Regions from separate parts of the Homo sapiens genome. Here regions 1, 3, 4, 5 and 6 are each linked to region 2. Evidence: promoter capture Hi-C in 16 types of primary human blood cells and fetal thymus (Javierre and others, 2016). All regions are on one chromosome and are shown on one strand. The core of a region is centred on a gene start or on the middle of the fragment in contact, and the rest is flanking DNA. Distances in the headings are between cores, read along the strand shown.

Region 1 (4,476 bases), core at 1,879-4,378, 860 kb before region 2:
AATCTAAAGTGGCTGTCAGAAACAACTTTTCTATGGCATAAAACAGTATTAACAGGGAGCAGAAGGAACAGAGAAATTGCAGTACCTATCAAGAAACAGAAATAACTGTTACTTGTGGAAATAACTCTGAAGAAACATGGTATAAGAAAACTGTAGACTTTGGAGTGATTAAGATTCAAGTTCAATCCTGGTATTGTGCCAGGCTCTGTGTAGTCAATAGCATTTTATGTTATCTCATTTCATCCCTACAATAACTGATATTGGTATCCTTAATACACAGAGAAGGAAAAGTGAAAAGAGAAGTTAAGTAACTTTCCTACAGTAAATGAAGGAGTTATTTCATTTATCAGTATGACCTTGGGCAGGAGACATATTTCTACAACTAGAATTCCTAGACTTACTCTCTAAGACTGTTGAGAAGGTAATGTGTAATTATCAAGTGTCTGGGACATACTCAGTGGTATGCACCCAATTTGTTCCTATTAGGTACACTGCACTGAGATGGTCAGTGGTTACAAATAAATTGAATTTGAGTCTATTCTATAATACATATTGCAGACACTCAGCAACTCTTTTTGACAGTTCCTATGGGAGTTTACATGCAAATTCAACAGCTAGACTTCACAGTTTCAATAGCAGCAGAGTATTATGCTTCTCCTAAAAACTAGCTATGTGACCATGGGCAGGTTACTTAATCCTGCCAAGCTTCTAGTTTCTTAGCTGTAAAATAAGATCAATATAAACAAATTTAGTGGTGTTGAATAGACTAATTAGCAATAATATACATAACGTATTTAGTCCACAGTTGATACAGAATAAATGCTCAATAGAAGATCATTATCCCGGTCATAGAAGTTCAAGAAGTCAAAGGATAAAAATTCAAAAGTCCTAGTCTGCCCATCCCTTGTAAAATTTGTCTTACTACATTTTATTTTCACACCTTTTCCCCGCACTTGACTATAGAATCTTTTAAGACTTATGTTAGAAAAACGTTATCATTACCAACATGCAAAACTAAAGCACAGTGCAATTACCTACTTGATAAACACATTTTAAAAGTACCTGTATGATGTTTGGCATGTCGCAGAAGTTGCTTCTGAAGCCTGAAGAGTCGTCCACAGGAGGGATGGGGACATACATATTTCTTCTTCAGCAAATGCTGGTATTTAATGTGGTGCTAAAACAGAGAAAGTGAAAGGGGCGAAAAAAAAAAAATTAAGGCTTCCTGAAAGTACTTGTCTTTGCTAAGTCAAAAGTACTGAAGGAAAACCAAATACTTAGATTTCACACATGGATAGTGAGGGAGTATAATAAAGTGGCTAAGAACATAGGTGGAAATACACAGACCTGGTTTCCAATCTGGGTCTGTCATTCACTAGCCTTTGTAATCTTAGGAGACAAATATTTCAAGCTCCAGTTCTCATTTGTAAAATGGAGGTAACAATAACCATCTCAAAGTGTTGTTATGGGGATAAGAGATTATGTATTGTACTGTGCTTTAGAGCAGCAAATGGCACACAGCAGAGGAGGAGCGGCTATTGTTATAACTGAACCACGATCCAGAAGAAGGCCTTCGTGTCATGTTATATTTGTTGCTGAAGATCAAACAGGTATTTCCTAAGCAGTATTTCACTTTCACGTTTCCTGCCAGACCTAAATATAAGTGGTACGTTTACTCATCAAAAATAATAATAATAATCTACTCAAGAAAAATAAAAACAAAACCTCAACTAAAAGTCTTTTATTCATTCTACACAGTACCCAAGAAATCACAGGTTTGAGTTCTAATTTTACTTTTTTTCTAAATCACTTTAAAATAAAATGTTACTCTGTATTTACACCACATTGGGAATTACTGTAATATTGAAAGATTCCAACGAAAGTTCTCTATGTGGGTTCAGATTCTTAGTCACCTCTTTTTAAACAGGAGGTGCTATGAATTTGGATGTGTTCACCACAGTTCATGTGTTGGAAACTTAATCCCCAATGTGATAGTGTTGGAAGGCGGGACCTAATGGGAGGTGCTTAGGTCTTAAAGGCTCTACCCTTATATAAATGGGTTGATATTATCATTGGAGTAGATTTGTTACAAAAGCAAGTTCAACCCATTCTTGCCCTTCCACCATGGGCTGACACAGTTAAAAGGCTCTTGTGAGATGTGGGCACCATGCTTTTGGACTTTCCAGTCTCCAGAACCACAAGCTAATAAATAAATATATGTTCTTTGTAAATTACCCAGTCTCAGGTACTCTATTATAGCAGCACAAATGGACTAATCATGATTAACCCATTTATGCTGGAGGTTGCAAATGTATTTTTGTGAAAAATCAGACCTTGGTGATGACCTTGAACAGTAGGATATAAATAACTTGCCCAAGCTTAGCATTCTAATAATGGAACACTAGGCATAAATGGGTTAAAGTCATTTTATGTTTAAAGAAAGACTTTTCTTGACATTACATGTCAATGATAAAGCCTACACAAGCCAACAAATTAAAGTCTCGTGGTGCAAGAACAAGTAATGGAACACAACCTGAAAGGCTCTTATATAACAACTTCACTGACCTGCAAATAGCGAGGATGGGCAAGGACAGTTCCACATCCTTCCATCTCACAACGGACATACTGGATTGGAGGCTTTTTTCTATTATCAAAATGCAGAAGAAAAGTTAGCAAAAAAAAAAAAGTGGTACTCTGCACAGTGGCCTCTGACTTAAACTGTGCTATTGGGAATAGCTATTTTATAGTAGGAAGAATTAAAATCTCTTTACTACTATACAGATTACACAGAATTTGTATTAGAAGTAACCAAGAATTAGCAAATATTTGACAGAATTAAAAAGTAACACAAATAAACTAATGACCCCCCAAAGGTAAAGTATTAAGATTGTTAGAAATTTCAAGCTCTTACAATGAAAATAAGATCATAACACCTGTGCATCTAGGACATTAGTGAAGTTGCTTTTGTGAAATTTTTAAATAGCCATTCCTGCAGGATTATCATGAAGTCTAAATTTGTGAGTAAAGTGCCTGGTACTGGAATAAGGTGTAAAACAGTAGGGGTAAAAATTCCTCACCTCCTTTTGGGTAAACGTGGACTTTTGTCATCTTTTCGTCTTCTTCCTCTCCTGTAATTGAAGACAGGGTAACAGTAGACATATTCTGAATCAAAACTACACAGTGAAGGCTGGCTGAAGACACACACACACACACACGGCCAAAGAACAAGTGGCAAAGGATAACCAAGAATACATAAAGTCAAAGATATATCTGGCAAATCAAGCAAGTAATTTTACCCTGAAGTAATTTCACTTTCAAATCAGTCTGTAAGACAGATTAAATATATACCTTCCATAAACTATGCAATACTATGAAAGACTTAGAAGAATCTCAATGTATTACTTTTAGAGTTGCTACCATGTATCATCTAAAAACACTAAGATTAAAAAATACCTTCTCCTTGCAATAGAACTGAAAAACCTAAACATTTTTTTACTAAGAGTCTCTCCAGTGAAATTGTCAGCTGCTTGAGGCCAAATTTTTTTAAGTTAAAAAATACATATTTTGAAGCATGTATACGTCAACATCCTTCCTCACACTCCCACTCTTTTTTCCACTAGTCGTTCAAAATCTGTTAGATTTTCATTTTTAATAATTGCCTACTCACTTCCTTGGAGGTTCCTCATCCTCTCTAATTTCATTCTCCTCTTCTTTCACCTCCACCTCTACTTCCACTTTAATTTCCTTCTTCTCCTTCTCTTCTTTTACCTTCCCTGATTTTCTCCGTGGCTTTGGGGTTTCCCTGAAAACACAAATGCATTTCAATACTAGACAAAAGATCTTTTCAAGGAAGACTATGACAACAAATTAAAGCTTAGAGTTATCACTGATTTGTTATAAAACTACCTTCCTCAGTTCATGAAATGTGATTTCCTACCAATCATCCTCACATGCATAGTAATGATCCAAATATATGTATATGTTGCTCATGGAATGAACCCTCCCCAGACTAAAGATGCCTGTAAATCAAATTTCACTATAATTGTAAAGAGAAACGAGACAATTAGTTAAAAAATTCTAAGTATTCAGGCAATTCATGATACCTTGTTGAAATAAAACATGCAGACTCATAAAAACTTGTATATAATCAAAATAAAGTTCTACAAATGGGAAAGAGGATTATTATCAGGGTATATTAAGGTGTTAGACTTACAAAAGAAGTGCATAATTAATTACTCATTTAAAATTAATTCTATACCCATTAGCTTGGCAACAGATAAAATAAAAGCATGCAACAGTGCTTTCCTACTTATATTTCATTAACATGTCTGCAGTAAAATCTGAGACATGCCTTTCTAAGTGGGGTTTGTAGGTCTCATCTCTTGGATCATCTTTGAATGGTATCTCCTCTTCACTGATTAACATCTCTTCTTCCTCCTCCTCTTCCTCTTCACTACTAAAAATAAGTAAATAGAA
Region 2 (4,301 bases), core at 69-2,568:
GCGCTAGGACGGTGGCACGAGGTGTGTGGCGCTGGCCGCGTGGCCTTACAACCCTCGCTATCACTACCACCCAGTGCATGTGGGTGCTGAAGCCCGCAGGGATACAAGGGCGCCAGGGGCTGCCTGCAAAGTCTATGCTGGCGGAGGTGGCCGTGACGGGAAGTCCTGACTTTGGGCCTCCCGGATCCCCACGGTCCATTCCCAGAAACCCTCGCGCCTAGGAGTCTTTCTTCAAAGGAGTTGGGCCAGGGCGCCCAAGCGTGCGGGCCACCCCGCTTTGCAGGGCTCTCCCTGAAGCCCTGCTTTCTCCGCCAACACCGATTCCCTTGCTTCTGGATGGGGAGGTGAAGCACTCAGCCGTTGGCCCACCTGCGCATCTTTGCTCAGCCTCCTGACTCAACGCTGAACATTGAGAGGAAGCAAGGCAGGCTGGACAGAGGACAAGCACAGAGAAGGCAACAGGAGCAAAGTCTACCGAAAAGCTATTTCAAGTTGGGTCTGGAGGCAAGGCCAGGCGATCGTGGATTGAGAAGCTTCCCCAGGGCCCTTGCAACAGCTGCCATCCTCCATCCACATCTCTCTCACTGGGATGGGAATTTTTTTTTTTTTTTTGAGACGGAGTCTCGCTCTGTCGCCCAGGCTGGAGTGCAGTGGCTCTATCTACAACCTCTGCCTCCCAGGTTCAAGCGATTCTCCCACCTCAGCCTCCTGAGTAGCTGAGATTACAGGCGCCTGCCACCATGCCCGGCTAATTTTCGTATTTTTGTAGAGACGGGGAGTCACCATGTTGGCCAGGCTGGTCTCAAACTCCTAACCTCAGGTGATCCACCCGCCTCGGCCTCCCAAAGTGCTGGGATTACAGGCGTGAGCCACCCCGCCCAGCCAAGCCCGCCTTCTCTTAATTTACCTTTTCATTCTTCTTTCCTGATAGTTTTGACGTGAACTGTTCGGACCCTCAGTGCTACCTGATAGAAAACTGCATTCCAGGAAAGGAACACAGCTGTGCAGTGAGTGGGGGGGTTTCGGAGCTAAAAAGCTGGACATAAGCCTGAAGTCAGAATACTCAGTTTGTTTTGGGAGGGGTAAAATGCTTTACTATCCTTGCTGCATTGTTAGCCTGGTAATTAACTATACAAACGTAAAGGCCAAATTCTTTGCCTACTACCAGGGTCAGTCAGGCTCGCTTTGGTCAAGTACACCCAGCCAAGGGTGGCAACGTCCTTGGTTCTGTGAGAGACCTTCCCGCAGAGTCAGAGGCTTCTCTTCTTTATTGTGCACCCTCTGCTGGTTAGTGTGATACAGTGAGCTCAGAGAAAAGGCGCATACGACTTACTAGAGATAATTTTATACCCAGTAATGTTTCCTTAAAAGTGTTAACTTGAAGATTATACCTGTGGAGCTGGGATGTGGTGCTCAGGAAGAATATAAGTAGTCAGCATTGTAGCAGTTGAGTCTCAGTGGTAATGGAAATGAGGAAGGTTGAAGGATAATAATAGTTACCATTTGGGGCTTGGTAGTTATTTTGTGCCAGGCACTCACTGTGCTAAGCAACTTTACCTTCACTGACTCATTTAATCTTTAAAACAACCCTACAAGGTAAGTACTATTATTCTATTTCATGGATAGGAAAGTGAGACTCAGAGAAGTTAGGTCACCTGTGTGAGATTATACAGCCAGGCTAATAAATAGAGCCAAGACCCAAACCTAGGCTTATCTCTGAGCTCCCACATGTAACCACTATGATAATTTTCTTTCTTGAGATATCCTTGGCACAATTTCTGGGCTGATGTTTCCTCAACTCATACTATTATCTCTCACTTTCAAAATTCCCCTGCCATTTCAAAGACAAAAAACAAATTAGATGTAACCATGCCTCTGAAATGTATTATCTCACCTACAGGAGTCTGATCTGTGAAAACCTAGAAGGTTTGTTAAGACTCTTGCCAACATGTGCTCTCCTGCCAGTCCCAAAATCCTATACAGGAACCCCCGGTTCCTCAGGTTAGCTTTTCTGCAGCTTCATCACCAGCAGCAGAGTGATGTGTTCTGTGATGTCCTTCTGCAGGCAGAAGGTAAGAGAGTGGTCGGAATTCAACTGAAAACTCACCATAGAATAAGATAAAATGAGTTCAGAGCCAGAGGGTAAAGGACAAAATCAGCAAAATATTACTGCCTATGACCACTGTAAACTATTTGGTAAAGGGCTGTTTGTTTCTAGGACAATTACTACTGTTTTCAAGAGTGAAATTGTGACTTTGCTTCTTTCTCTTAAATAATGAATCTAATTGTAAAGTTTTATAAGCAGATACATTCTATATAACATGGATAATATTCCAATGGGATGGTTGTGAAGATTAAGAGTTAATGTGGGTAAGCACTTAGAATAGTGCTTTTAATATACTAACCACAATATGTGTTAGATGATACTATTATGTTTTCTTTTTGAGAGTCTCACTCTCTTGCCCAGGCAGGAGTGTGGTGGCACAATCACAGCTACCTGCAACCTCCACCTCCTGGGTTCAAGTGATTCTCATGCCTTAGCTTTCTCAAGTAGCTGAGATTACAGGCATGCGCCACTACGCCCAGCTAACTTTTGTATTTTTAGTAGAGATGAGGTTTTGCCATGATGGCCAGGCTGGTCTCAAACTCCTGGCCTCAAGTGATCCACCCGCCTGGGCTTGCCAAAGTGCTGGGATTATAGGCGTGAGCCACCACGTCCGACCCTTTTCCCATTTTCTTTTTTGTTGTTGTTTTGTTTTTGAGACAGAGTCTCTCTCTGTCTCCCAGGCTGGAGTGCAATGGCACGGTCTCAGCTCACTGCAACCTCCACCTCCCGCGTTCAAGCGATTCTGCCGCCTCAGCCTCCCGAGTAGCTGGGACTACAGGTGCGTGCCACCACACCCGGAAAATTTTTTGTATTTTTAGTAGAGATGGGGTTTCACTATGTTGGCCAGACTGGTCTCGAACTCCTGACCTCATGATTCACCTGCCTCAGCCTCCCAAAGTGCTGGGATTACAGGCGTGAGCCACGTTGCCCGGCCTGCTTAATTTATTTAATCTTCAAATTGATGACTTTTGTTGTTTGTTGCTAGAACTAAAAATGTATAGGTTATTTCCACCCCTTCACTTCACACTGGAAATGTTAATTCAGCATAAAGTAGACCCTGATATATAATGTACAAGGCCCAAGATTAGGAGTCAGAGTTACTAAGTAGATCCTGATATATAAAGGCCCAAGAAATGGGCAGGTAACTTCATCTCTCTGGGGCTCAATGTCTTCATTTATAAAAAATAATTATGATAACCAATATTGTATACCACTCTACAGTTTGTGGATTACATACAGTATAGTGTCTCATTTGATTTTTTTTTTTTTTTTTTTTTTTTTTTTGAGATTCTTGCGCTGTCGCCCAGGCTGAAGTGCAATTGCGCGGTCTCAGCTCACTGCTGTCTCCGCCTTCTGGGTTCAAGCGATTCTCCTCCCTCAGTCTCCTGAGTAGCTGGGATTACAGGGATATGCCACCACACCTGGCTAATTTTTGTATTTTTTAGTAGAGACCGGGTTTCACCATGTTGGCCAGGCTGGTCTTGAACTCCTGACCTCAGGTGATCCACCTGCCTTGGCCTCTCAAAGTGCTGGGATTACAGGTGTGAGCCACACACCCGGCCATGTCTCATCTGATTCTAACAGTCTTGTAAGAGAAGCCTTAGCTATATGGTTCCAATTCTACATATGAATGAGTTGAGGACTACAGTTAAGTGATTTGCCTGCTGCTTCTCTTAGTAAGTGCAGAGTTGAGATTGACTATTTAATTCCAAATAAAGAAAAAAGTATCAGTTGCCTGTTGTATGCTAAACACTGCTACCGTGGTCATACAAAAGTTCCTCTTCTTAAGGAAATCTTATAAGGGGAAGACATTCAAAAATCCAGTGCATTCAAGTAACTGTGCAATATATTAAAAATATAATTGGGTAAGTCATAGGCAGACTTAGGAGGATAAAAAAGAAACATCCTTCACAGACTTGAGGAGACTGGGAGACAAGGGTTAGGGAACTTTTCTTGGAATAACCCCTTAGGTGAGATCTGAAAGACAAACAAGTGGGAGGAAGCAGGGATTTTTCCTGGCAGACAGCAGCACGTATACAGGTTCAGAGATGTGACCACGGGTTTGTTCGTTATTATTAGAGCAGACTATAAAACATGTATTGACCAGAGAGGAAAAGAGAAATTAGTAAACATGTGAGGTCTGAAGTGTCATACAAAGGAAGTAGGTATCTCAGGACACTGGGAGACATACTGA
Region 3 (4,125 bases), core at 343-2,842, 880 kb before region 2:
ACCAGATGTTTCCTAAAATGAGGTTGGTTTGATGGAGAAGCAGGAAAGTGCAGCCAGGGGATCCATGGACTGTAGGTCTCATTCTGCCACTTTTTAGCTGGGATGTCAGGGCAAATTGCTGAACCTCTTTGGCTTCTTCATGTTATGTTTAACGAAGGGATTGAACTAAATGAAGTTTGAGTTCCTTCTGGTATTAACAGGAGGGTGTAGGCGTACGGTGGGATGATTCTAAGTCTAAACGCATGCTTTAATGTATCCTGGGCAGCTCCTTAGACGGCATGTTTCCTTGGCTCCCTCTGGAGCCTACCAGGCTTCTCCAGGACTTGTCTGACCATGCCTACCGTGAAAGCTGCCTCCTGGGTGAATGGCCTGGGTTGTAACTCTCCAGGGAAGTGGATGATTCCTGGAGGCTGTGAGTGAGACTGCTGGGTCAACCTCCAGTGGCCAAAGGCCAATAGGCACAATAGGGTGAAGTTGAGGCTGTGGCCAGATCATTCCTGGTAAGCAGGTGGTATTCTCTGAGATACTTAGGAGCTTGCTCCTCAATCAACTCTGAATCCAAGCTACCTGAGGCATTAAATATACCTGATGATGTCTGCATGTCAGTTACAAGTAATTTCAGATACTCAATTTGTCTATAACAACTGTGTAGTTAGCTATTTTTCATCATTTTCATTTCACAAATGAGGAAGCTCAGAAAAAAGAGTGACTTGTCTGAAAGTTTAGAAACTTATATAGACTTCGTTACAAAGCAAAATTCTGTACAAGCCTGTATTGGCTTTAGCCAAGGAGAGTGGATTAGAGACAGAGAATGGATTTCAGAATAAGAGAATTTTGATTACCAGATGTCCTATGGCACAAGATGTAGTGAAGTGAGCTTTAGAGCCAGAATTAAGACTCCAGCCCTGTCAGGTGCTAGAGGAGGAAATTTGGGCAAGTTAATGCTCATTCTCATTTTCCTCATCTAAGAGATATGTCAGAGGATTAAATAATATAAAATAATGCAGAGCTGCCTGACATGTTACATTATTCCCTTTCATACTACCTTAAATATGTGGATAGAAATACAGAATCTCTCAGTAACTGTTTCATATTTTCCTCTATGTGATTTTCAACAATTTGGTTTCTACCTCCAACCTGACTAAAAATGGGCTAGTCAGGGTTCTTCTCTTGAAGTCAAAGGCTTAATGGGGGGGGGGGGGTGGTCAGCTACTTGCAATTAAGCCATATAAAAGGAAATCATTCTCATCTGCAGTCTAGCTGATAGGACTACGTATTCAGAGGGCAAAGCATTGGCCTGGTGATATAGGGGCAATCTACCTTTTCTAGGCTGACTGGCCCTGGGAGTTTTGCCCAGTGTGAGTGGCCTGGCACCATGGAGATTTACTCAGCACGCTTGATTGGGCCTGGCCCTGGCTAGGAGGATTATGCTTCATCCAATGCTGAAGTCACTTGAAATTCCCCTCATTCATCCAAAGATACAGAAAAGAAGTAACTTATGGTATTGCTGAGAAAAGAACTTTATTGTTAGCTATTCTTGCATCTTTTGTTTTCTATGTGTTCAAACCAGATTGATCGAAATAATCTTTTATATTAAGAATCATAAGCACATAGATTTTATCTCACACCCAGACACTTCATCAAACCATCAAATTATCTTATTCTGTCTTTATCTGTAGTTCTCAGAGGGCTACAGAAGCCAAGAAATGAAGTTTTTATCATTTTTCGCTTTTGAATGCACCCACATTCAGAGAGCTCATTCTTGGGTGGGTCTGACGCTTGCAGTGGAGGTGGGATGAGGCAGGAGGCCAAAGCATTCCTTTTAAGAAATGTCCTGACCTAAACAGTACATTAACAGTACATTAGTCACACACGCGCGCGCGCGCACACACACACACACACACACACACACACACACACACACAGAATCAACTGAAGTGAAATCAAAATTCTACTCCCCCCTACCCCCTTCCTCTTTACCAATCCCCTTTACATCCTGGTGGAGGTCTCTCTGCTTCCCGTGTCTCTATTTCACCCCTTAACAGAGATGCTCAGGTACCTCATGAGGAGCTGAGGATTCACAAACAAAATTCAATCTAAATAACTTTTCAGATATGTCTTCCTGAAATATTTACTAGTCCTCTCCCTGTCTGACAAGTGATCACAACAATGAGTCATCCTTTGGGCATTGATCCATAGCAGCTTGAAATAACAGCAATACCAGAGCTATGACTTTACATTTTCCATTTTTATTAAAACTCTCCCTTCACTTAAACCTGATTATCTTAAGGCTAATTTTATTCCATGCTTGGCTTTCAAGTTTGTGCTGATTTGCGAGCCTTTTCCAAATCACCCTCTTACATGAATGCAAGAAAAACTCTCATCCATGCAATTCCTTGACTCAGGAAAACAAGATCTCTTTACCCACAGAGGACTTTTCAGAAGGTACTCTCTGAAAAGGAGGCAGAAGAAATTGTTTTTACAAAATGAGTTAGGGCTAGAAACTAAATCTATGTACCTTAAACTATAATTCAATCTATATAGTTATACCATATATGATTTCCCAGAGATCTTATCCATATCAGATCAACAGAATAAAACCTAATGAACAAAATCTTCTTGGGGTTCTATATTCCTAAAAAAACGTAATTCCATAGTGTCATCGTTATCCTCTTCTTTACTATAAGGCACACATCTAGAATACTAATCCATTCAGTCCCTTTTTCTATTTATCCATTTCAAATAAACATGATGCAATGTCTACACATTCAGATCTCATACATGTTGATTTTTGTTGCATGGTCTACTGCTCATTTCCCCTTTATCTTTTTCTAAGATTAGCTTTCCCCACACTTCTTTTGGGTGCATATTGTATGCTTCCTGAAAGACAAGTACACAGCGTTTTGCAAAGTGCTGACAATGCACTTGGTAAAGACTTGGTGATTCTGTGACTTAATTGTGACTTACACATTTTTCTATCTCCTCCCATTCAGTGGTTAGTACTTGTGCCTTTTGTGGACCCTCTGCCACTTCAAATCCGCCTCTTATACATACATATTCCTTTACATGCAACTCATGAGAGCTTAAGCCAAGCTCCACTGAGTTCTGAAACTTCTGCAGATGTCTGCTGCTGTACCTGCTGAACATAAAAACACTTGGAGAGGGGACACTCATTTTTTAAAAACATTTTTGATGGAGGGAGTATGGGGGCAACATCTTTTAATTTTTTATTTAAAAAATTTCAAAAATTTATTTTTACATGTATAATTGATGGGGTCATTTTAGATGCAGCAAATTCATAGTCAGTTATTCCCCATTAAGAAATTGTAGACATATTTCTCCATTGAACAGAAGTATTATCCAGATAGCTCTAAGAGCTTCATATTAATAAGCAGAAATTTTATTATTTGAGAATGCTGCTGTTAAGCAGAATTAAGAGAAAGCTTGAATGGAATAAGACTATACATTCAGTGCCAAAATTACAAATGATCACCTCTTCCCTTCTCTCATGACTTCTCTTTTGTACTCAACCAGTACAGAGTATTTTGTAGTTTTGTACTGAGACACAACTCCTACCTCCTCCGGGAAACTACTTTGGGCCCCTCTCCTTCCTTTAGCTTCCTAACAAACCTGGGACTTATAATTTCGACTATGTGTGTGTGTGTGTGTGTGTGTGTGTGTTTGTGTGTTTACAGAATCTCTGGTATCTCCAGTGAGAACAGAGTAGGCCTCACCCTCTCCTCATGACTAAGTCCAGAGAATGTGAGGTGAAGGAGTTCTGTGACTTTTTAACTTGAGTAGTATTCCACTCACTGTCCACAAAGGCTTGGGTTACACTGTCTGCATCACTGATCACAGTAATGTACGTGTGTGTGTATACACACTCACAACCATATTGCCACAAATGCATATTAGAAAGCAGGGCCTTACTTTCCCTGAACTGTTACAATGCCTAGCCCAGAGTACTCTGGTAATAGTGACTTCATGGAGTTTTGTACACACACCCATGTGAGAAAGGATACAAGCTAAGCTACTCATCCACACCTCATGAAACCTATGGGAGTTAGCCCTGACTCATGGTTCATTTACGAATACAGAAGCCCCAGTTAATTAAATTAACTTGGT
Region 4 (4,464 bases), core at 1,032-3,531, 740 kb before region 2:
ATCTCATTGTGGTTTTGATTTTCATTTCTCTAATGATCAGTGATTTTAAGCATCTTTCATATGCTTGTTCACTGTATGTTTTCTTTTGAAAACTGTTTGTGTCTTTTGCCCACTTTTTAATGGAGGCTGTTTGTTTTTTGCTTGTTAATTTGAGTCCCTTATAGATTCTGGATATTAGACCTTTGTTGGATGCATAGTTTGCAAATATTTTCTCCCATTCTGTAAGTTGCCCTTTTTACTCTATTTGTTTCTTTTGCTGTCCTCATCCACTCTTAATTCTATGATAATTTCTGATGGCCAAATAATGTTTTACCTTCTTTAAGATTGCTATTTGTGTTGCTAAGAACATCAGAGATAAGATCCTAAATCTTTAGACTTGTTTCTTGAAGTAAGCAGAAAACAGTGGCTAGTGTGCACAAAATTCACATTTCCTAGAGATGTAAAGAGCCTTAGAAGCTGTCCCCTCCTCAAATACTTCCTGATGGTTTTGTGTGTGCTGTGAGCTCTGGTGGGCATTTTCACCTTTGTTGTTTCTCATAATTACCCTGTTAACATTTAGGTTATTATCCTAGTTTTATAGTTGATAAAACCAAGGCCCAAATATGTGAAGTGACTTATCAAGGATTAAACAGATGAAGAAGTGTCATCATTTTCTACTAAATGATAACCTGTGATTTATGAATCAGATTTCCCATTTTATAGATGGTAAAACTAAGGCTCAGATACAGATGCTAAGTGATAGAACCAGGATACCGATTCACTCTTTTGCTGGCCTACAAACCCTTTATACTCTATTCTTACCTCCCCATCATGTTCTACCTTTTTTCAGATGAGAAAACTAAGGCAAAAAAAAAAAAAGAAATCTCAAATGTTTTTTCCCATGTCATATAGATAGACTGGTGGTGTTGAGTCTAGGCTCCAGATTTTCTATCTCCCACTCCACACCACCACCTAGCTGTCCTGCTCAGCATGCTCAGAATCTGTAGGACTCCAGCTGCCTTTTCCAAACCTGGTCGGTGCAATGGCATTCTCACTTTGACTGCAAAACTCCTCACCAAATATAAAACTGAAAATGTAGGCCACCTGTCCATGTGATTGTATTTCATAACTTAGAGCTAAAAATAGCTCTCAGCTTGCTTGGCCTGTATATAACATATTAAAAGCTCAAATTCAAATTCACTCGCATCTTGGATTAATGTTAAGATTATGGCTTTCCAGACTTCTTTCTCTCACATTCTATCTCACCCAGCAGGGAATGGATTGTGCTTGTCCACATTATTTTCTATGTGAATTACTGAGCTCTTATTTTCAAAGATGAATTTCGTGACCTTATGCTCTTTGCTGTACCTGCAGAATTCATTTTGGAGGGCACAGACTCTAGAACCAGACAGCAGGGTAAGGCTGGGTATCTGTGGCCAAGGCATGAAAATTTTGCCTTGATTTCTTCATCTGTGAAATGGAGACGAAATCATACATATTTCCTGAGGCTGTTTTGAGAAGTAAACACACTAATTCATGGCTAGTGTTTAGCTAAAATCTGGACACACACACAGAGTGGACAAATATGATAATTAAAAGCAAAAATCAACAAAATAAAAAATCACCACCGCATAGCATGACCAATTTGTCCTAGTTTGCCTGGAACAATCTGTTTTCTCACTGAAAGCCCCAAATCTCAGAAAATTTCTTAATTCTGGGCAAATTGGAACGGTTGTTTACTCTATTCACCACCAATGAAACAAACAAAAGGTTCTGAGTAATTCATTTATTCAAGAAGTGTTTATTTATAACTAATAAATTCTAGACAGTGTGATGGTATTTTAAAGGTAAACATGACAAAAATGTATCCTCATGGAACACTCAAGCTAATGAGAGAGAATTATGAAAATGGGAAAATTGTATATGTGCTGTCCTGAAAACTGGCATGAAATGGACAAAGAGTGTAATTCTGAGATGCATTGTATTCAGTGGGACACAATCCAGGAATTTCATGGATTACACACTTCTGTCTAATGCTACTTTTTTTTTTCCCCAAGCAAAATGCTATGGGGAGTTAACAGGGTTACATATGAAAAAGCTTTCCATAAGCAGGTAAGTTAAACAGCTTGCTGTTACATTACTACAGTACTTCTCAGCATCTTTAATAGCCTACTGAACACTTAAATCTCAGATGGGGATGTTTTAAGTATTATTTCTGAACTTTTAGACTTTTCAACAACATAGAATTTTTTTAAAACTCATGTGATGGTACCAATATTCCGTAGGGCTTTGACAGAAGGAAAATCTAAGTGGTATTAGGCATTGAACACAGAAAGCTCAAAGTAGGAAGAAAAGTGCCAAACCCCAACTCCTCATAAATAGAGACAGAAGTCATGCTTCAGTCATCAGAGCCAGAGCTGTGGTTCTTAACCGTTTTTCTTTTGGTTCATGAGCCTTGTTTCAGAATTTAATGAGCACATGGATGCATAGAGGATAAGAAGCTTCAATCAAGAGCCTTGAAATTCACAGAGCATGCTGAAGAGATGCTAAGTCTTCTTAGGAATTGAAAAATCTTCTCTAAGTGAATTTTGATCCTTCCTATCAGCAGAGATGGAAAGAACCTGCAGACTGAAATAAATACTAACACAAGAAAGAAATTCCACGTGTGGACTAGCATGGGATAATAGTGTAGAATGCATAGAAGCAGGACTTAGATGAAATATAGTAGTCACTTTCATATATGGAGTGCTTACTATTACATGCTTTATCTTATTTAATCAAGAGATATTTATCCTGGTATTTAGGCTGTGGCTTCTGAAATCAGACTTCTTGGTTTTGAATATTGTTTTTGCCATTTACTGGTGATGCAACCTGGAAGAAATTACTAAAATACCTCTAAGTCTTGTAATTCCCATCTCTAAAGTAGCAATCATAAGACAGTAGTATCTTTTTCATCAGGCTTGTAGAGGTTTCATGACATAATTGCTGCAGGCTGATTTCTAACTCATAGTAAAGCTCAGTAAATATTACCTAATGTTTTTCATATTATTATTAGGTGGATATTATTCTTAGCATTTTCATTTCATGGAAGAGGTAACTGAGAACAGGAGTGATCTATAGCAGACTCTTCCTATCAACCCCATTTAGGGGTTCATTATTGGGGAGAAACAGGAAAGCAGTGTCATATATTTCAGCCTCATTTTTCTCTCAGAAGAAATTATATTAATAAAATAATGTTCTTGGTCTCTTTCTAAATTATTTTTCTCTGAGTCATCCTTTATGCAAGTGATATTTATAACTTTGTGAATCACACCCACACTTGTGTGGGTTCTCTCCTTGGGTCATATGTATTTTTAGTGTGTCTTTATATTTTGGGGACACGGGGAGATGTTCTTTATAACAGATATGTAACTTAAGATACTCTCTTCTGATTTAGGAGGGACCTTCATATCCCAGGACCTGCTGAAGTCATTCCGAACAGGTTTAAGTTGCCTCTGGTCTGTCCTCTGTCCCACCTACACAGCACAAGTAAAAAGGAGAGAGAGAAACCACTGAAACAAAAACATTCTGTATTTTAAAGTCAGAAGCAAAAGTCTTTATTTCCTTTTTTTTTCTTTCTTTTTTTTTTTTTTGAGACGGAGTCTTGCCTTGTCGCCCAGGCTGGAGTGCAGTGGCGCGATCTCAGCTCACTGCAAGCTCTGCCTCCCGGGTTCACGCCATTCTCCTGCCTCAGCCTCCCAAGTAGCTGGGACTACAGGCGCCCGCCACCACGCCCGGCTAATTTTTATATTTTTGTAAAGAGAGGGTTTCACCCTGTTAGCCAGGATGTTCTCGATCTCCTGACCTCGTGATCCACCCGCCTCGGCCTCCCAAAGTGCTCGGATTACAGGTGTGAGCCACCGCCCCCAGCCTCCTTTTTCTTTTTTTCTTTTTTAAAGATTTTGATAAGAACACAACATGAAATCCATCCTCTTCATAAATTTGTAACTGCACAGTACAGTATTGTTAACTATAGGTAAAATGTTGTATAGCAGATCTTGCATAACTGAATTTTTTTTTTTTTGGAGGCAGGATCTCACTCTGTCCCCCAGGCTGAAGTGCAGTGGTACTATCATAGCTCACTGTAACCTCGAACTCCTGGGCTAAAGCAATCCTTCCACCTCAGCTTCCCAAAGAGCTAGGATTTCAAGTGTGAGCCACTGCAACTGGCCTCATAATGGAAACTTTATACCCTTCGAGCAACTCAGCATTGCCCCCTCCCCCTGCCCCTAACAACCACCATTCACTGTCTGTTTCTATGAGTTTGGCTATTTTAAATACTTTATAAAAGTGGAATCAAGTAGTATTTGTCCTTCTGTGATTGGCTTGTTTCACTGAGCGTAATGTCCTCCAGGTTCATCCATGTTGTTGCATATGGCAGAGTTTTCTTCTTCTTAAAGGCAGACAGTATTCTACACAGGTTTGAGCTTCTTCTGATTTCTTCTC
Region 5 (4,391 bases), core at 337-2,836, 840 kb before region 2:
TGCTTTGTTGTTACTGGAATAGACTCTAGATACAAATTTGTCTTGCCTGCATAATGCTTCCTACATACATTGCATAATGCTTCCTATATACAAACACAAATTGTATGTCTGAGTCCATTTACACAAAATGTCCAGAAAAAAAACAAATCTATACAGACAGAAAGTAGATTAATGGTTGCCTAGGGTTGGGGGTGAGAATACGGATTAACTATAAACAGGCATGAAGGACATTATTAGGGTGAAGAAAAAGTTCTAAAACTGTATTGTGATAGGTGTGCAATTCATACAATGTACCAAGATCCCTAAATTGTACATTTGAAATGGGTGAATTTTATGATGTATAAATTACATCCCAATAACACTATATTTCAAAAATATACATCACAGTACTAGTCATAAAGACTAATAACTGAAAACTGCCCAAACATCCATCAACAGTAAAACAGTTAAACTGTGGTTATATTCCCACAATGGGACACTATACAACAACTAAAATAAACGATCTATGACAAACACAGCATTTGTCACAAATGATGAGCAAAATAAGCGAGACACAAAAGAGTGCCTACTGTATTATCCCATTTATGTAAAATTCAAAAATTGGCAAATCTAATTTCTGCTAAAGTCAAAATAGTGGTTACACTTGGGGGCGGTTGACTTGAAGGAGCATAAGGGAGTTTCCAAAACAATTATGTTTTATTTCTTCAGTTGTGTAAATGGTTACATGATTGGGCTCACCCTGGGTCCACCCACTTATAAAATAAAGAAGGGGGAGGAGAAACAAGAGTACATGTATATGTCTTATAATATGTGCATTTCTGTATACGTATGGTACATTTTAATAGGATTTCTCTAAAAATCACCTGTAATCTCAGGAAAAAAAAAAAACCCAGAAATATCAAATGCCCTTCAGTTAGGTAACGGTTAAATAATAGAATATAAATGTACAGTAGCCATGACTGGATATCCACAAAGCATCTAGGCACCTCTTCTTTCTTAAAGAATCAATCCCACTCTTAAACACAGTGGGAATCCCAATTAAGCTAAGCTAACAGCATCAAAAAATATGAAATACTCAGGGATATATGGGATAAAAAATTTGAAAGACCTATACACTGAAAAGTACAAAACATTGCTGAGTAAAATTAAAAACCTAAGTAAATGGAGCAGTATATCTTGCTTATAGGGTTGTAAATACTAATATAAATTTTATTTTGATTTTATGACTTCGATTTTCTATTTTTTGTTGCTGATATACAGAAATACAACTGATTGATTATACTGTGGGGGTGGTTTCAAGACACCTTGCAGTTACTGCCTTCAGGATTTTGGAACACTGCGCCACAACCACCATAATATAAAACAAGTCTGAACTGAATGACCAATGAGGAGGGGGGAATGGCCCAACCAGTAAATAATAAATTGCTGTGTTTTAAGCCACTAAATTTTTAGATGGTTTGTTATGAAGCTAAAGAAGCCTTTGCCCGGATAGCATTAGATTATTCAGGCTGGTTTTAATTCAGAGGAATTTCTTCTTTCTTGAACTTAACAGTCAAGGGGCAATATTACTTTTTGTCACAGATTCTTATCCACTAAGGCTCATTTCAAAATGAAGATACAAGCAAGTCTCTCTTAAAGGTTTTGGATTTGTACTGGCTGAATATGGCTTTCCCCACTAAGGATTTTAAGTTTCCTCTGCTTCAGTTTTCTTCTATCAGGGCATTCTGCTTTAACTCTCAAGTGGTCTTGGCAGGAAAAGGGATCTCAATGTAAAATAATATATATAGCAGAATAAACTTATAACTGTGTCGAAGATGGCAATAAGTTGAGCTGTAATAGGCAAATTATTATAAAGTTAAGACTCATTTACCTGATAGGTAATCCCATAACTGAAATAAGCTGATGATCAAGGCTTTTTAAGCCTACATCACAATTCACATATTATAAGTGACATATATCTTTATTTGTAGGAAATTAATAATGGAAAAGAACCAAAGGAGGTTTGGATGTCTGAACTAGCAATACGGATTAAAGGATCTGGGCCATACCCAACATGGAACAAGATGTCTGAGTAAATTATTCTCATACTAAGAGAAATAATACAGTTACTGCTACCTTAAGATAAAAGATTAGGAAGGAAGGACAAACAAAAATGTCTATCTACTGTATTTAGCCTTTGAGGCTTGAACATTATATTGTCAGAAACTTGAGTTTCTGAAACCTAACTGAACTACTCTGTGTATTTCTATCACTAGCTGCACTTTGTTTTCCATAAATAATTAAAGTTTGCTTTGAAATATTAGCCAATCTCAGTAGTATTAAGAGAAGCCAGGGAAAGAGGCTTTTGTTGTTGTTGTTGTTTTTAACTTACATTTAAATTTAGAACAGTATCATTTAATTGGTAAAGGGGAATATTTCAGTTAAAACTAACAGGCTGGGTGTAGTGGCTTATGCCTATAAATTCCAGCACTTTGGGAGGCCGAGGCAAGAGGACTGCCTAGCCAGACCAGGCTAGGCAACACAGTGAGACCCTGTCTCTACAAAAAAATCAAAAACAATTAGCTGGAAATGGCGGCACACTTCTGTAGTCCCAGCTACTTGGGAAGCTGAGGCAGGAGGATGGCTTGAGCCCAGGAGATCAACACTGCAGTGGGCCATGATCACACCACTGCACTCCAGCCTGGGCAATAAAATGAGACCCTGTCTCAAAAACAAACAAAAAAAACCTTAAAAGCCTATCTGAGTGTTAAGACTGGGCTTATACACGCCCTTTCTCACCTACAGATTTTCCTTCCAGAACTCTTTTTCTATTCAAAACCTAAAAGATTTTATTTTGACTGGGAAAACTAGGTCATTAGCAAGGAGATTCAAAATCTTTCAAGAAAGAATTGTGAAGACAATGTTCTCAGTATCTTCTCGATTCTTCCTTTTGTACACAAACTCAAATGGTAAGAATTACAAGTTAGATTTTTCTCACTGGAATGGGAAAAAAAGCATAAAAATGTGTCTTCTGTATTTTTAGAAATAATAAAAATATTCTTTAAATATACTAGAAAGAAAGAAAAACCAACAAAAAAGTATACTATAAAACAGACACATCTGTAAAGGAAGTAAAAACAGTCAATGTTATATTGAGGTTGCAAGTTGACAAGAGGCCAAGATGAATGGGATACAAGAGACTGATTTGAGAGGATACGATAATCAAAGATATTTCAATACATGAAAAATAAAACTGTTGAAATCTATGAAAACTGTTAATAACAAATTAATTCTAATTTTAAAACATGGAGCACAGAGGCATAAGCTATAAATTAGACTGTATCAATATAAGAAAAAAACTGAGGATGTCATCCAGACAGGAGGAAAAATAATCAAAATAAACTAATACTTTAGTAATAATTACAGATAGTATGCTGATTATGATAAACTAGGTAAGGTAAATACTTAACAGTTAAGCTCCAAATAATCTAAGTAAATGCTGAGATCTGTTATGAATTTATCTGATGACTGACTTCTTTTTTCCTGACTACACAAGTTAGAGACTCACAGTAATCACTGTCAAACATCACTATTTCATAAGAGCAACTGAAAAGAGTAAAATGATTTTGAATAAAAGGTTGAGATCCAGAGTTTTATACAATCAAATTTTCAAGCATGCAGTATTTCCAAGTATGTTTTCTGTAAACTCCAGTTTTACGAAATGCTCTTTAAAAAGGGGGTCTTATAAGTCAAATAGGTTAGGTAATCGCTGCAAAATTTTGGTATTTACACTGCACATTACTCAAAAATCAAAGTTTCTGAGAAGTTCTGCAATAAATAACCTATCTAACATTAATAACTGAAGCACTGCCCACATCTACTTGATTCTACAGTATTTATTATCATTCCATTAAACATTTAAAACATACTTTAATAAACATTAAGGTATTCTGGTCTCCATTTTTATGTTTTATCTTGAGAGGCAGTTTTAACTATTATTCCTCACTAAGGACATAACAGATGGGAGAAAAAAAAATTAGGCTTCATAACATGTCTAGTCAGAGGTTAGAAAGTGAAATAAGTTAAAATGAACACTGGGATAACTAAAAATTACGTGTAGGTAGACTATTCTTTTACTTTATAATCAAAGTACAACACTGGTTCAAAACAGAGAAACAATGAAAACATAAAGCCAAGTTAAAAAGGAACTAGATCTCCATCCCTTAAGATTTCTACTAACACTCTTGGAAACTCCACAATCATGAAGATAATCCTCTGCCAGTGGTAAACTAAGCTTTCAAGTTTGAAGTAATTTTTCCTTTTTAACTTTTGTGTGGAATGTTCCTTGTCCAAATTAACTATCTGCATATTCAGGTGTAATCTCAAATGTCACCTCCACCAAAAGGTCTTCC
Region 6 (4,220 bases), core at 1,366-3,865, 800 kb before region 2:
CCTTCTTTGATTATTACCTCCATCTAAATCAATTCTTCTTACCATCTTGCTGTGTCCCTTCTATCTCTTTCTATAACTTATCTCTGTCTGACATTACAACATATATTTATTTATTTAATTATTTATTGTCTATCGCCCACAGAATGCAATTCCATGAGGCCAGACACTTGGTCTGTCTTATCTTTGCTTTAATCCAAGTGCTTAGAGCAGTGATTGGCACAAACCAGGTATTCAACAATTATTGCCAAATAAATGAGTAAAAGGGAGATGTGACTAATTTTTGAACTGGGGTCATCCTAAGATCTTCAAAGGGTATCATCTTCATGTACTAAATTTCCTACATTAAGAAAAGATTTACAAATATAAAATTAGTCAGATTTCATTTGGCCTGAGGAGTTTAGGATGAAAGGGAGATGAAAAGATTTTTATTGGTGTTGAAATTTTAGATTTTTCCAATGTCTTGCAGGAAGGTTGGGGAAAGGCCAAGAGATCAGTCAGTAGAGGTGAATTTATAGAGTCATTAGAAGATGCCAATGAGAATAAAAATGAGGCTGATTCTGTTCTTGGTTCTTCCCTTGGGCCAGGTTGCAGTGAGAGCAGATGCTGGCAAGAAGCACTTACCAGACAAGCAGGATCACAAGGCCTCCCTGGACTCAATGCTTGGGGGTCTGGAGCAGGAATTGCAGGACCTTGGCATTGCCACAGTGCCCAAGGGCCATTGTGCATCCTGCCAGAAACCGATTGCTGGGAAGGTGAGATGGGCTGAAATTTTGGTCCTACAGCCTTCTTTGTCTCTCTCTGTCTCATCAAGGTTTGCTCTTTCCCCTTATATTTTAAGATATTTTAGTTAGCATTAATAATTACTAATCACTTACAGTGCTCTGGCCACTGAGCTAAGTGCTTTACAAGTATTTCCTCATTTAATGGTCACATCAGCCCTTCAAGAAGAATGATTGCTCCCTTTGTAAAGATGAGGAAACTGAGGACTCAGAGACATTAATGGACATATCCAAGGCATAATAAGAGGTAGAGGTAAGATCTGAAACCAGGAGACTGTCTCCTGAGTTTGAGTTCTTGACCATTTTTCTGTACTGCCTTTACTGAGATGACCTTTCTCACTGCTCCCTTTGTTCACACATTCCCAGTCTAAATTGATTGATTACAATTTTCAGCTGAACTCAGCTCCAAGTCACAGCTGCAAACTCCTGTTCTGCATCGTCCTTCACCGAAGCTATGATAAAAAGCTTTGAGACCTGACTGCATGGGGCGTGGAATAAAGTGTTCAAACTAGAGGAATAAAAACTGTCATTTGGCCTTTTCCTCTTCCAGGGGTCCCTTCCACACTAAGGCTACAGTTACAACTTCTCTGTCATCAATGTGCTATATGTTGTTTCTGCCACCCCCTGTGGCAGTGCAGTGGTTGTGAACATTTACAGGCTTTCATCACAGTGATCAGTCCCGGAAGTGGGCATCCTTTTATTATCAATCCATAAAGCACAGACCACAGATGGCCTTAGGTGGAACCTAGGTCTAGGCCTCAGTGTTGTATAATTCCAGGGCGTGTTGTCTACAAGGGGTACAATGTGAAGAGTGCTCCCTAGAGTTGTGCAACCTGTAGGCTGTAGAGCACTCAACTGGCCTCCTGTGTCAGGCTTTATTTCACTCCACAGGTGATCCATGCTCTAGGGCAATCATGGCATCCTGAGCATTTTGTCTGTACTCATTGCAAAGAAGAGATTGGCTCCAGTCCCTTCTTTGAGCGGAGTGGCTTGGCCTACTGCCCCAACGACTACCACCAACTTTTTTCTCCACGCTGTGCTTACTGCGCTGCTCCCATCCTGGATGTAAGTAAATCCCCGCTCCTCTCCAGCTTTCAGTCACTCACTTAGAACCAGAGTCATGCTTTACAACTTCTGCATCATTATAATATCTGTGTGTTCCCTTTCCAGAAAGTGCTGACAGCAATGAACCAGACCTGGCACCCAGAGCACTTCTTCTGCTCTCACTGCGGAGAGGTGTTTGGTGCAGAAGGTATGACCCGACTTGAGAGGCTGTATCCCACACCCCAGTGGGTAGTTATAAGACCAGCAACACCTTTCCTGGTAGTCACGGGAGTCCTGGTTCCTATCAGTACTATCAAAGTGCCCATTTCAGTACTAGATACCATCCCTCCCTACCTTTCTCCAACATTTATAATTTCCCTTTAAATTGATTTTTTAAATCACAGAAATACAAATGCATAGTTTAAAAACTCAAATATTACTTCAAGGGTAATATTGAAAAAGCCTTTTCTTGTTGAATATTGAAAAAGTCCCTTTCTCATCTCCAAATCCAGTTCTCCTCTCCAAATTATTTTAGCTGTTTCTTCTGATATTTACTTATTTTTTGTTGTTGTTGTTGTTTGTTTTTTTGAGACGGAGTCTCACTGTGTTGCCCAGGCTGGAGTGCAGTGGTGCGATCTCTGGTGCGATCTCCGCCCACTGCAACCTCCACCTCCTGGGTTCAAGCGATTCTCCTGCCTCAGCCTCCCAAGTAGCTGGGACTACAGGCACTTGCCACCACACCCGGTTAATTTTTGTATTTTTAGTAGGGACAATGTTTCACCATATTGGCCAGGCTGGTCTTGAACTCCTGACCTCGTGATCCGCCCGCCTTGGCCTCCCAAAGTGCTGGCATTACAGGCATGAACTACTGCGCCTGGCCTGCTTATGTGTTTTAAATAATAACTTTATATTGTTATAGATTGTTTTATTTTTCCAGTTTTAACCATTATGTATTGACTGTCTAAGAGGGAAGATGAGGTTTAGAAATGTTATTATTACCCCACTCACTCCTAACATATTTCCCCTCCCCTGTTTTTTCAATATATAATTATGTCATAATTACAGGTTAGATCAGTATTAAGTGTGCATATGTTGACAATCATAGAATACTGCTCACAAGTAAGCCATGTAGCAAACTGACTACACTAGAGTCTGGATTTTAGAGTCAGACTTCCAGGTTCAAATCTGGGTTGTGGTATTTGTTCAAGTCATTTAACATCTCTGTACCTTACTTTCCTCATCAGTAAAATAGTCCTAATGAAATTGCCTACCTTATAGGGTTGTTATGAGGATTTAGAGACAATACAAGCGTGGTATTTAGAATAGTGCCAAGCACATGGAGGTATAGTAGTGTTAATATTATTATCACAGTGTCCTTTTGGTATAAATTCATTTTTTTCTAAAGTTAACATTTGAATCCTTTTTGAAATTGGCTTAGTTTTTATTGTACTTATCACTAAGTTATGCAACAGAACTGTGAAATTCTTTTCAAAATGGCCAACTACATCTGGCAACAAGTCAGTTTCTTTCTTTTCTTTTTTTTTTTTCTGGAGATATCCCTCCAGGAGACTTTCCTCCTCCTGATTCAACATGAAATGATTTCTTCCTGCTGAGTAGCAGTCATTCTGGTTCATTAACTTAGAATTATATCTAGTAATTACTCTTGGAAATTCCTTTTATTAGTTTCCTCTTTGGATGCTCTGTTTCCTGGGTCCCATGTCTATGTTTTATACATGTTACCACCTTTATTTTGGTGGGGAACATCCCCTAGTAGCTTTCTGAGAAAGAATTTTTGAGAACTTGAATATCTGAAAATATTTTTATTCTGTCATTGCCCTTAAGTTGCCTGGGCATAGAATTCTAAGTGGAAACTATTTTCCTTCATAATTCTGAAGACATTGCTTCACTGTCTTCTAGCTTCCATGATTGGCAAGTTTTTATTAAATTTTTTTTATCCTTGATCCTTTCTACATGACCCATTCTTCCCCCTTTGTATGTTTGTTTCATGTGTTTTCTGAATTGTCTTGTTTTTTTTAATTTCTCCTTTTTATGTTTGTTTTGAACAAATATGGAATCAGAAAGCTGCTTTACTTTGTTTTTCTCCTGTCCTTTTAGAATGAACTCAGTGGGGAAGGATTTCTCCTCTCATAAATAAAAGCTTGTGCAGTCCTCTGTCTTTTCTGATTACTGTTAAAAAACAGTTCTAAATATAAAATCAATTTAAGAAACAAAACACAAAAACTAAGCCATTAGGTAATTCAGTCTGTGTAATAGTTAAGGCTTCCAGCACTTTAAAAGTGACAGCCACTCCCTCTCTTTTTTAGGACCTTCAAGCTGCAGGAGGCGAGGACAGGGGTATGGCCTTTCCTCTCTCCTGACCTCGCTTTGTTATCTACC

Evidence for each region. Contacts are between HindIII fragments. The CHiCAGO score rates a contact against its expected background, and 5 or more counts as called.
Region 1: a fragment that was not itself captured here is called in contact with the fragment with the promoter of BTBD18 in region 2 in 1 of 17 cell types (non-activated CD4 T cells); the score reaches 5.9 in non-activated CD4 T cells.
Region 3: a contact is called between a fragment that was not itself captured here and the fragment with the promoter of BTBD18 in region 2, in 3 of 17 cell types (fetal thymus, non-activated CD4 T cells and M0 macrophages). The highest score is 6.0, in fetal thymus.
Region 4: a fragment that was not itself captured here is called in contact with the fragment with the promoter of BTBD18 in region 2 in 1 of 17 cell types (total CD8 T cells); the score reaches 5.6 in total CD8 T cells.
Region 5: a contact is called between a fragment that was not itself captured here and the fragment with the promoter of BTBD18 in region 2, in 4 of 17 cell types (activated CD4 T cells, total CD8 T cells, naive CD8 T cells and 1 more). The highest score is 7.6, in activated CD4 T cells.
Region 6: a fragment that was not itself captured here is called in contact with the fragment with the promoter of BTBD18 in region 2 in 5 of 17 cell types (naive CD4 T cells, naive CD8 T cells, total CD8 T cells and 2 more); the score reaches 7.5 in naive CD4 T cells.

Annotation. Positions count from the first base shown.
Region 1 is chr11:58,610,930-58,615,405 of GRCh38, reverse strand. ZFP91 (ZFP91 zinc finger protein, atypical E3 ubiquitin ligase) reads right to left here. Exons shown (of 11, transcript NM_053023.5): 5 at 4,352-4,456; 6 at 3,668-3,802; 7 at 3,078-3,128; 8 at 2,566-2,644; 9 at 1,063-1,177. It overlaps ZFP91-CNTF (ZFP91-CNTF readthrough (NMD candidate)), which reads right to left. Exons shown (of 13, transcript NR_024091.1): 5 at 4,352-4,456; 6 at 3,668-3,802; 7 at 3,078-3,128; 8 at 2,566-2,644; 9 at 1,063-1,177. Among named protein-coding and RNA genes, the nearest start is that of CNTF, 9.5 kb to the left of the region's middle. The HindIII fragment of the contact is 1,495 bases long and covers 2,381-3,875 here.
Region 2 is chr11:57,748,836-57,753,136 of GRCh38, reverse strand. It overlaps BTBD18 (BTB domain containing 18), which reads left to right and starts at 1,318. Exons shown (of 3, transcript NM_001145101.3): 1 at 1,318-1,596; 2 at 1,901-2,072. The coding sequence starts at 1,949. All of the region lies in intron 2 of TMX2-CTNND1 (TMX2-CTNND1 readthrough (NMD candidate)), which reads right to left. The HindIII fragment of the contact is 11,151 bases long and covers 536-4,301 here.
Region 3 is chr11:58,625,907-58,630,031 of GRCh38, reverse strand. No RefSeq gene overlaps it. Among named protein-coding and RNA genes, the nearest start is that of CNTF, 5.3 kb to the right of the region's middle. The HindIII fragment of the contact is 3,706 bases long and covers 1-3,445 here.
Region 4 is chr11:58,492,706-58,497,169 of GRCh38, reverse strand. LOC105369313 (a long non-coding RNA gene) reads left to right here. Exons shown (of 5, transcript XR_007062673.1): 5 at 1-3,234. Among named protein-coding and RNA genes, the nearest start is that of OR5B21, 13 kb to the left of the region's middle. The HindIII fragment of the contact is 403 bases long and covers 2,080-2,482 here.
Region 5 is chr11:58,587,406-58,591,796 of GRCh38, reverse strand. The region is part of intron 2 of ZFP91 (ZFP91 zinc finger protein, atypical E3 ubiquitin ligase); the gene reads right to left. The region is part of intron 2 of ZFP91-CNTF (ZFP91-CNTF readthrough (NMD candidate)); the gene reads right to left. Among named protein-coding and RNA genes, the nearest start is that of ZFP91-CNTF, 10 kb to the right of the region's middle. The HindIII fragment of the contact is 5,379 bases long and covers 1-4,275 here.
Region 6 is chr11:58,547,597-58,551,816 of GRCh38, reverse strand. It overlaps LPXN (leupaxin), which reads left to right. Exons shown (of 9, transcript NM_004811.3): 5 at 585-752; 6 at 1,671-1,844; 7 at 1,950-2,031. Among named protein-coding and RNA genes, the nearest start is that of LPXN, 26 kb to the left of the region's middle. The HindIII fragment of the contact is 2,737 bases long and covers 1,247-3,983 here.